Regions from separate parts of the Homo sapiens genome. Here region 2 is linked to region 1. Evidence: promoter capture Hi-C in 16 types of primary human blood cells and fetal thymus (Javierre and others, 2016). All regions are on one chromosome and are shown on one strand. The core of a region is centred on a gene start or on the middle of the fragment in contact, and the rest is flanking DNA. Distances in the headings are between cores, read along the strand shown. Region 1 holds the start of ANKRD44-AS1 (ANKRD44 antisense RNA 1). Region 2 overlaps HECW2 (HECT, C2 and WW domain containing E3 ubiquitin protein ligase 2).

The links. The method cuts DNA at HindIII sites, captures the fragments that hold promoters and counts their contacts. A CHiCAGO score of 5 or more calls a contact.
Region 2: a contact is called between a fragment that was not itself captured here and the fragment with the promoter of ANKRD44-AS1 in region 1, in 1 of 17 cell types (non-activated CD4 T cells). The highest score is 5.6, in non-activated CD4 T cells.

The regions. Positions count from the first base shown.
Region 1 is chr2:197,196,096-197,200,832 of GRCh38, forward strand. ANKRD44-AS1 (ANKRD44 antisense RNA 1) reads left to right here and starts at 1,896. Exons shown (of 2, transcript NR_135584.1): 1 at 1,896-1,994; 2 at 2,823-3,178. All of the region lies in intron 1 of ANKRD44 (ankyrin repeat domain 44), which reads right to left. RefSeq lists an enhancer at 2,942-3,011. The HindIII fragment of the contact is 4,177 bases long and covers 1-3,093 here.
Region 2 is chr2:196,230,342-196,235,078 of GRCh38, forward strand. The region is part of intron 21 of HECW2 (HECT, C2 and WW domain containing E3 ubiquitin protein ligase 2); the gene reads right to left. Among named protein-coding and RNA genes, the nearest start is that of HECW2-AS1, 27 kb to the right of the region's middle. The HindIII fragment of the contact is 697 bases long and covers 1,938-2,634 here.

The sequences.
Region 1 (4,737 bases), core at 646-3,145:
TTTTGAAAAATTGGTATAGAGGTTTTATTTCTCATCTTGGCTTGGGTTACATTCTTTGTATAACTGTATCTTACTGCATATTGAATTCATGTAGTTGCAAACATGAGAGGTGGATTTAATAATGTTAATCAATATAAACCACTTTAGTGATCTTTGTGGGGAAAAAAGAAAAATGGCCAGAAGATGATTTTCAGGGTTGTAGGTATATTCAGTATAATTTATTTGTCTGTTCAAATAGAGACAGCAGTTCAGTTTTAGGGTGCACTGGAAAACATGACTTTTTATTACTACCTGGTATGTGCATCACTTATAAAAAAGACAACAATAAAAAAGTATTCCTTATAAAAAATAGCAGAAAATGATCCATAACTACAGAAGTATCTTCTTGTGGTCATGAGTAATTTTAATTTTTGAGAATCTCACAAATTGGAAGCTAAATAAAGCAATTCAAGTGTCCTTTAAAAACAACAACAAAATCAGCATGTAGAAATGAAAGGTACTCTCAGAAAGGTGGCAATCTCCTGCTACATTTGAGGAGGCTGGAACTACTGTATACAAGATATATGGATTAACTCAGTCACATTAAATCATTCATGATTTAGGCAACTCCAGATTGGGTTTGTCTAAAATCTGTTAGCACCTGGGTTCTTTCCAAACACCAGCAAGCAATTTTTACACAATCAGGTCTTTCCAAAGCCCATGACAATTTTCCTTTAAACCCTCTCCTTCCCTTCTACTGTTCTTTTCTTTGAATTCCACGTGCATTCTTGGAAAGACAGCAAGCAGTTAAACTCTCACCACCTCTCCACAGGTGAGGGACTAGGGACATGTGTAAAACGGAGTCACCTTCCTGTTCTGGCCATTGTCAATTTTTTTTTTCCTAAGGCATCTTGTTATAGCAACCATTCTAAAATTGTTATAGCAACCATTCTAAAATTTAAGGCAGTGGGTTGATCAGGACCTGAATTAGTTTCTGCCTGAGATGACTGGAAGGTCCCCTACTCCCTCCCCAGCCAGAAAAAGTCACATGGAATGAAAATCTATTAGAGAATCCCCTCAGTGTAGTCTTTCAGGAAGCATCTTCTCATTTCCCCATCCAAAATCATGGTAAGGACATCCAGTGACAGATGTCAAAGGGAAAGGATAAGGCAGCAGGAAGAGAGAGGAGCCTAAGAGACTGGAAAACATTCGATAATATAAAATGGGAAAATGGGAAATTCTGCAAAAAAAAAGAAGTCATATCATATTTCCTTTCACAGACACCAACCCAGTGCGTAGCTCCTTTATTTCTTTACACACTACCCCCTCCAACAGGGGATAAAAGATATGTTTTCTAAAACTTAATTTGGTACATTTCAGATAACCACATTCAATTCAACAAAGATGTATTAAGCATAAGACATTTACTGAGCATAAGAAATTCAGACACTGGAGGCCGGGCGCAGTAGCTCATGCTTGTAATCCCAACACTTTGGGAGACCAAGGCAGGCGGATCACTTGAATCCAGGAGTTCCAGACCAGCCTAGACACATGGTGAAACCACATCTCCACTAAAAATGCAAAAATTAGCTGGGCACGGTGGCGCACACCTGTAGTCCCAGCGACTCGGGAGGCTGAGGTGGGAGAACCAACTGAGCCCAGGAAATTGAGGCTGCAGTGAGCCATGCTCACACCATTGCACTCCAGCCTGGGTGACAGAGTGAAATCCTGTCTCAAAAAAAAAAAAAAAAAAAAAGAAAGAAAGAAACACAGAAAAAGAAAAAGAAAGAAAGAAATTCAGACACTGGAATGTCAGAGTCAGTCTCTCCCTTGATGAGGTTACCAAGGTGTAACAGGAAGTATACAAATACGCACAGCTAGAATGTAAGGCACAGGCCGCAGGAGAAGTGCATGGAGAAGGGAGAGAAATTGTACCTGGCCTCCTGAAAGACGCAGCCTCTGAAATGAATATTGAAGACTGGGGAGGATTTAAACAGGTAGAGACGGATGGAATGGTAAGGGACTTTCCCTTCTTCATATTCAGAAGGCTGTGAGCAGAAGCTAGGGAGCCTGAACATACACAGGGAACAGTTTCATTTGGCTGGAGGAGGGGAGAAGTGAGGTAAGCTGAGTAGTAGACAGGGATCCTATCATGGAAGGTCTTGAATACCAAGCTAAGAAATTTGAGCTCTCTTCTGTGGAACTGGGGGAGCAGTGGGTGGTTTTTGAGCAGGGGAGTGACCTAAGATTTGTGCTTTAGAACAATCACTCTAAAAATGGATTGTATGATGACCTGGAGGAAAAGGCTGGAGTGTCATAACAAGTTAGGAAACTGCAATAATAGTCTGCACAAAGGGCTCTGGGGATGGAGTACCGCTCAGTTGTCAGAGGAAGCATTCTTCTGGTGGTAATATGTGAATCTAAAAGGTAAATTTGACCGGGCATGGTGGCTCACGTCTGTAATCCCAGCACTTTGGGAGGCCGAGGCAGGTGGATCACCTGAGGCCAGGAGTTTGAGACCAGCCTGGCCAACATGGTGAAACCCCGTCTCTACTAAAAATACAAAAAATTAGCCAGGCATGGTGGCGTGCCCCTGTAATCCCAGCTACTCGGGAGGCTGAAGCAGGTGAATCGCTTGAGCCCGGGAGGTGGAGGTTGCAGTGAGCTGAAATCGTGCTACTGCACTCCAGCCTGGGCGACAGCAAGACTCCATCTCGAAAAATAAAAAATAAAATAAAATAAAATAAAATGTAAATCTAGCTCCACCTTTAATGTAGCAAGGGCTAGCCTCCTCAGGAGTGGCTGCCTACATTCAAAACGATTCTCACCAACTTCTTCCACAGGACACAGGGCTCGGGAGCAGCGCCAGCCCGACATCGGCGGAGGAGCACCGGAAGTTCTGCAGCACTGGCTTTCTTTGCTCTTCCACCTATGCAAGCTCCTTCTCTCTTGTGGCTTGCCGAGCCTGGTTAGCTCTGAGACCGGAAGTTCTGAAGTCAGCTGGCATCCTACATCTGTGCAACCTACTTCTCTCCCCATCCCACCACAGAAACCAGAGCCTCGAGGCTTTTGGCTTGGGTGCTGCCTTCACAGTTTAGGTTTTGGTAAGAAGAAAGCTTATCTTCATGTCATGAGAAAGAAAAAAAAATGTATCTTTACGTAACGAGCTGAAAGAACAAAACAAGTATACCTAAGCCAAGTACATGCTATCTTTATTTCTTTATTTCCACACTGAAATTTAGTCAGGGATAAAACTTACTTTTTTAATCACACGAAGTTTGAAAAATAGGAAGTACTATGGGAAACACCTAATGCATCAAAACCCCTGTGCATTTTATCTTTGTCTTATGTTTGCTGGATTTTAATCTTAGTAGGTTTCCTGTTGCAACAATACAAAAACAGATAAAGAAAAAACTTAATAACCTTTCCTACCACAAATGTGAACAGCCCGTGTTCTTGTTGGTAGGTACAGATACAGATATATGAGATTATCGTTATTTATTATCAGAAAATGGGATTTTACTATTTCCCACACACACACTTTTTTTGAGATGGGGGTCTTGCTATATTGTCCAGGGTGGTCTCAAATTCTTGGGTTCAAGCGATCCTCCCACCCAAGTATCTGTAATCCAAGTAGTCTGGATTACAGATGCATACCACCATGCCTGGCTTATTTCCCTCTCTTACAATTTGCAAAAATAATGATGTACTGAGGACATCCCCCAGGTCGATAGCTACAGGATTAAATCATTTCTCTTAATAACTATATATAATACTATTCCATTGTATGGATATGCCATAACATATTCAATTATTCCCCTTCGAATGGGCATTTGGGTTGTTTCTAGTTTGTACCACAACAAACAAGCCTCTATCAGTGCTTATCCACATTGCACAGAGAAGTGCTACCAGAGCCAAAAGCATTTTCTGAGTACCTACAATATGCTATTTTTATGAAATATACAAAAGAAATGTGTGACATAGTCCTTTCCTAAAAGACTGCCAAATATAGTTGGGGAAATAAGCCTAACCCACACAAAACACTTAAACTGTGTAAGACAGTACTGAACCATGTTCTACAGACCTCATGCAAATGGATGCCAAGTTGTCCTTCTGCACAATGACAGATTGGAGAGGTAATCTGGAGGTGCCTTTAGCCATAATATTCTAGGAGCCTTCTTGATTCAGAAAAGGGGAAGCATGAAAGGCTAAGAAGCCAGAGTGGTGTCTCTGGAGGAGGCAGGACTTGAACAAGGCCTGAACATGGTTTAGATGGAGGAAGGAAAAAAATGTATTTTGGAATGACAAATGAGGCAGGGCACAGCACTGACTTTAGACATGTATATGCTCAGGAGAATGTCCTGAGTTACAGCATTTCTAAACACCCTCTTCTCATACTCCTCCCACCACCACCACTCGCCAGACTCTGCTTAAAGATATAAAAAATTCCCAAGCTTGGCTGCTGCAGAACATCACACTAACACTAATTTAAAATGCACTACTTCCAGACAGCACGAGCTTGAAATTACCTCCAAATCTCTTCCTTCCCTGTCCTTCTCATGCCCTATGCTACCCCCTGCCAAAACACATACAACGCTTGCTGTGCCCTTCAAACAACAGTAGTCATTTAAGCTGCTCCTGCCCATCTGGAAAATAATATGAATAACATGAAAGAAAGCAATAATGAAGTGACTGGAATTTAGCAACCAAAAAGACCTCAGTTCTTTTGATAATCAAAAACTTTGTTAAAATGTTTAC
Region 2 (4,737 bases), core at 1,036-3,535, 970 kb before region 1:
ACATACTCAGAAGCTTTCTTTCAACAAAAGTCTGTGTGCTGATTACATATGGGGTGCTAATCTAGATCCTGAAGATATAAAACGTTTTCAAAGTCATTTTCCATTGGAACTTTAGGTTTAGCAGTTTCCATCTCCTGGTCCCAGCCTCCTTCTCTCCCTTTCCCACTCCTGAGCATGGCCACTTCCTTCAACCTTCTCTCAGGGCAGGGGTGAGAATTCCTTCTCTACCCTGGTGGCATTAAAGACTTGATCGTAACACTCCAGGTGAGGTCTTCTCAGCACAGAGCTTAGAAACTCCTCGACACTTTTCTCCGGCGATGCAGGTTAAACTTATCCTGCCTTTGGAGCAACCACTTTACTTTGTTGACTTACAAAGTGCTAGTCATCAGCTAAAGCCCGAAACCTTTCATCTAAACTGCTTTAACCCAGGACTCCCCCATCCTGTCTGCATGTAGCTGCATCTTTTAAAAGCCTTAATATGGCTGGGTGCCATGGCTCACGCCTGTAATCCCAGCACTTTGGGAAGCTGAGGCAGGCGGATCACGAGGTCAGGAGATTGAGACCATCCTGGCCAACATGGTGAAACCCCGTCTCTACTAAAAATACAAAAAATTAGCTGGGTGTGGTGGCGCATGCCTGTAATCCCAGCTACTCGAGAGGCTGAGGCAGGAGAATCACTTGAACCAGGGAGTCAGAGGTTGCAGATGGCGCCTCTGCACTCCAGCCTGGCGACAGAGCAGGACTCCGTCTCAAAAAAAAAAAAAAAAAAAAAAAAGGCCTTAACACTAGACCATACTTTTCCCGATTAAAATTTCACTTTTTGAGACTTAGTCCCCTGTGTCTTTTAGAAACAGAGCATGCCCGTGGTCAAAGTCATCTTAGAAGTCATTTTGTCCAATGCCATCATTTTATAGAGACGACTAAGGCCGAAAGAGATCACTGACTTGTATCACATGAAAACTGCAAATGGAAGAACCAGCAGGCCTTGGGGTCTTCAGGCAGGTGCCCTGACCCCAAGTTTAATGCTTGTTACTTCTTACAGCCTACCCTTCAGCCAATTTTAAATGTTCATCAAGACTAAAAAAATACTGCTAATAGAGTAGCGGTTGGCAAACCTGCAGGTCCAATCTGCCCCACCCTCTGGTTTGTAAATAAAGTGTTACTGGAACACAGCTGTGCCCATTTATGTATTGATGTTGTCCGCTTTCCTGCTACAAGGGCAGAGTTGAGTAGGTGCCATAGAGGTTTGACTGGTGAAATCCCAAATATTTACCACCTAGCCCTTTACAGGAAAATTTTGCTAACCTCTGTTACAAAAGAAAGAAAATAGGAGGAAAATACTACTTGTTAAAATATCTAGCTTATGGGCGGGGGCAGTGGCTCACGCCTGTAATCCCATCACTTTGGGAGGCTGAGGCAGACGGATCACAAGGTCAGGACCATCGAGACCATCCTGGCTAACATGGTGAAACCCCGTCTCTACTAAAAATACAAAAAATTAGCAGAATGTGGTGGTGGGCGCCTGTAGTCCCAGCTACTTGGGAGGCTGAGGCAGGAGAATGGCGTGAACCCAGGAGGCAGAGCTTGCAGTGAGCAGAGATCGCGCCACTGCACTCCAGCCTGGGTGACAGTGAGAGAGACTTTGTATCAAATAAAAAAAAAATCTAGCTTACAATATCCTAGGGTGTACGCAACCTCAAGGAGTGGGTAGAATACTAAGTGTGAGGCACAGAGTGAGCACCCGTCAGCCATGGTCATTCTCTGTGAGGCTTTCAGACACAATAGAGCATACAATGGATAAGGTCGGAGACAGCTGAAACATGAGGCAAATACTTCAGGAGTCAGTTTTCTTACAGACAACTGGTAAAAGTAAAATGGGATTTTGCCTGCTTAAAATTAAACTGTGGCATTCAGTTAGAAGTATCAGGGTTTCTTTAAGCTTTACCTCTGAGTATTTTAATAATACTGCACTTATAGAGTGCATTACAATTATCTGTCTATGTGCCTGCCTCCCCTATACATACATACTAGTCTGTAACTACACTGGGGCAGGGACCATGTTTTACTCATTTTTATATCTGTACCTAGCCTGATACACAGTGGGGGCTCAATATATATTGTTGAATCAATGAGTGGAGCTCTTTGATGCTTTCTAAAGAAAAATCAACATTGCTTACATTGTTATTTGGTATCTAGCAGATTTGCACATTTGCCTTTGAGTGGTATATTGATTCAATGACATGAACAGGTTATACCAATCCCTGAAAGGTTGCTCAATTTGAAAACATTGTCAGAAATCATCAAGTAAATTATGCTTAGAAAGTTTAACATGTAATATCTTCTCAGGTGGTAAAGTTTGCTAAAACAACAAAGACTGACCTCACTGATTAGTTCCCTTTTTATGATGATAGCTGAATCTGGCTGAAGATGAGATGAATGTTCCCTGAGGAATTAAACTGAAAATGAAAAGTCTTGTTTTCCCAAGCAAAAACAGAGCTAACAGTTAGTTCCTCTAGGAGAAAATGTGTCTTCAACTGGTCAAGTTTTTATCTGCTGACTTTTAACTCTAGAAGCACTGATGGAGTCACCTCTAAAGCCAAAATAGTCTTAAACTTTGATTTGATTATAATCCAAAGCTTAGAACTGCCTATCTGAGAGCAGGTTGTAGATTACAATTTATAAATAAGCCTAGCTAACTCAGTAAAACATGTCACAGCAGGGTACATCATGCCTTTGCTTCCTGTAATGTCTTAGCAACTTCTTTCATATAAATAGTTAATATGACTCATATCACAGGGATTGTCTGTTACATTCCTGTTTTGCCAGTTAGGTTGGTTCCACAGCTAAAGGCTTGGCACGGAAATATAAAAACTCTGGACGACGGGTGTGTAGCCGCACAACAGCTGCATCTGAGGGCATTTCCGAATAAGCACAGATGTCTCCAGGGTGGCCATGTAGTCTGGAGCCCCAAGTGCTGATAGAGCATTTTAAATATCATCACATGGCTGGGTTGGCACTCCACCCAAGTTGTCAGTGGCACCCAAAATTTGTTAAAATAACAAATTTTATTCTCCCATTCTTTATTTTCAACTAAGAATTACTGAAAACTAAGTATTCTAATGAAAGCAGACTATAAAATGAAAGAAGATGATGGCCTTGGGAAGTCACACCATTTCCTACAAGTTGGTTCAGGCACACATGGCCTACACACCTTCTGATTCACCCTCAGATATTTATAGCAGCAAGGTGTTAGTTCTTGAGCCAATTAAGAAAGCCTGGTAGGTGAGTAAGGTATTTTGATATGATAAACAAAGTCTTACCAGGTGCTACCAAACCAAAGCCTAGATACAGAAGCATCCTTCTTTAGAAAGGTTTGGGTAATTTAGGTTATCCTGTGAATGTCTCTTTTTGGAAGAAAAAAAGGGAACACCATAAAGTGTACCTTGAAGCTTCACAGATTTCTGAGAAATTAATGACCAAGCTCAGGGCCTCAAACAGCTTCTAGTGAGGATCTGACCAGTCATATGTAAGAACTGGTTGGTTACTTTATAAGCAGAGACTGAAGAAAACTCCTTCAGATCTCATCCTCCCTAGTTGCTTTCATTTGCCTGTCTCAGGGGAGTTACAGAAAGCTCAAAAGGAAGATATTACAGGAAGTTCTTAAACTCCCAAACTAAAACTGCTTGTACACATCTCCACCCCAGTCAAAGTGTGGCTCTGCAAGACATGATTGATGTCATATTGATGGCACCTCACACATAATAAACTCATTCTTTCTTAAGAAAGGTGCCTTTTACAGGGTTGGCCATGGAGAAAAAGAGGCAGGGCAATCACAGTGTAAACCTCCTCTCTTTACGCAGGCCACTATTTCTTTAATGTTTTGGGTATTAAGAAATTAGTGGCCCCACGCCTTATCAGAACACAACAGTCTAATCCAGTTTTTTTTTTTTTTTAAAGAGACAGGGTGACAGGGTTTTGCTCTGTCACCCAGGCTGGAGTACAGTGGCACAATCGTAGCTCACTGTAACCTTGAGCTCCTGGACTCAAGCGATCCTCCTGCCTCAGCCTCCCAAGTATCTAGGACTACAGACACAAGCCATCACAACCAGCTAATTATTTATTTATTTATTTTTTATAGAAATGGGGTCTCACTATGTTGCCCAATCTAGTTTGGAACTCCTCGCCTGAAGCAATACTCCCACCTTGGCCTCCCAAAGTGCTGGGATTATAGGTATGAGCCACCATGCCTAGCATCTAGGTAACTTTTTAAATCATATAACTTTAGTTGCTAGGACTTTTAATTCAAAAGAAAATAATACACTGGAGAATGTGCAGTATAATAATAGAGCTGGAAAATACGTAGAATAATTCACTGGAGAATATGTAGTATTTCATTGACCTCAACCCTAGAGAAGCAACTTCTTAGTAGACTGATGCCCAGCAGAAATAGGCAACCCCTGCGTGCAATTTCACGCCACATTCAGTCAAGATGACTCAGTTTTCAGCCACTCCACCACTGCCGATCTCCCTTCCCCACAACTTTGCAAAGGCAGATAACCAGATTAAGTTGTGTGGAAATTTTCATGACTAAAGCAAAACCTCCAGCTCTAACCAAATTAAATCACTAGTTACAAGATAGGGCTTAGAAACTACCTACTTTTTGTAAAAAGCCAAAGCATAATATAAAATGTGATCTTAGTTGGTGATGAACTAATCAACTAAAGTATTTGTATTTAT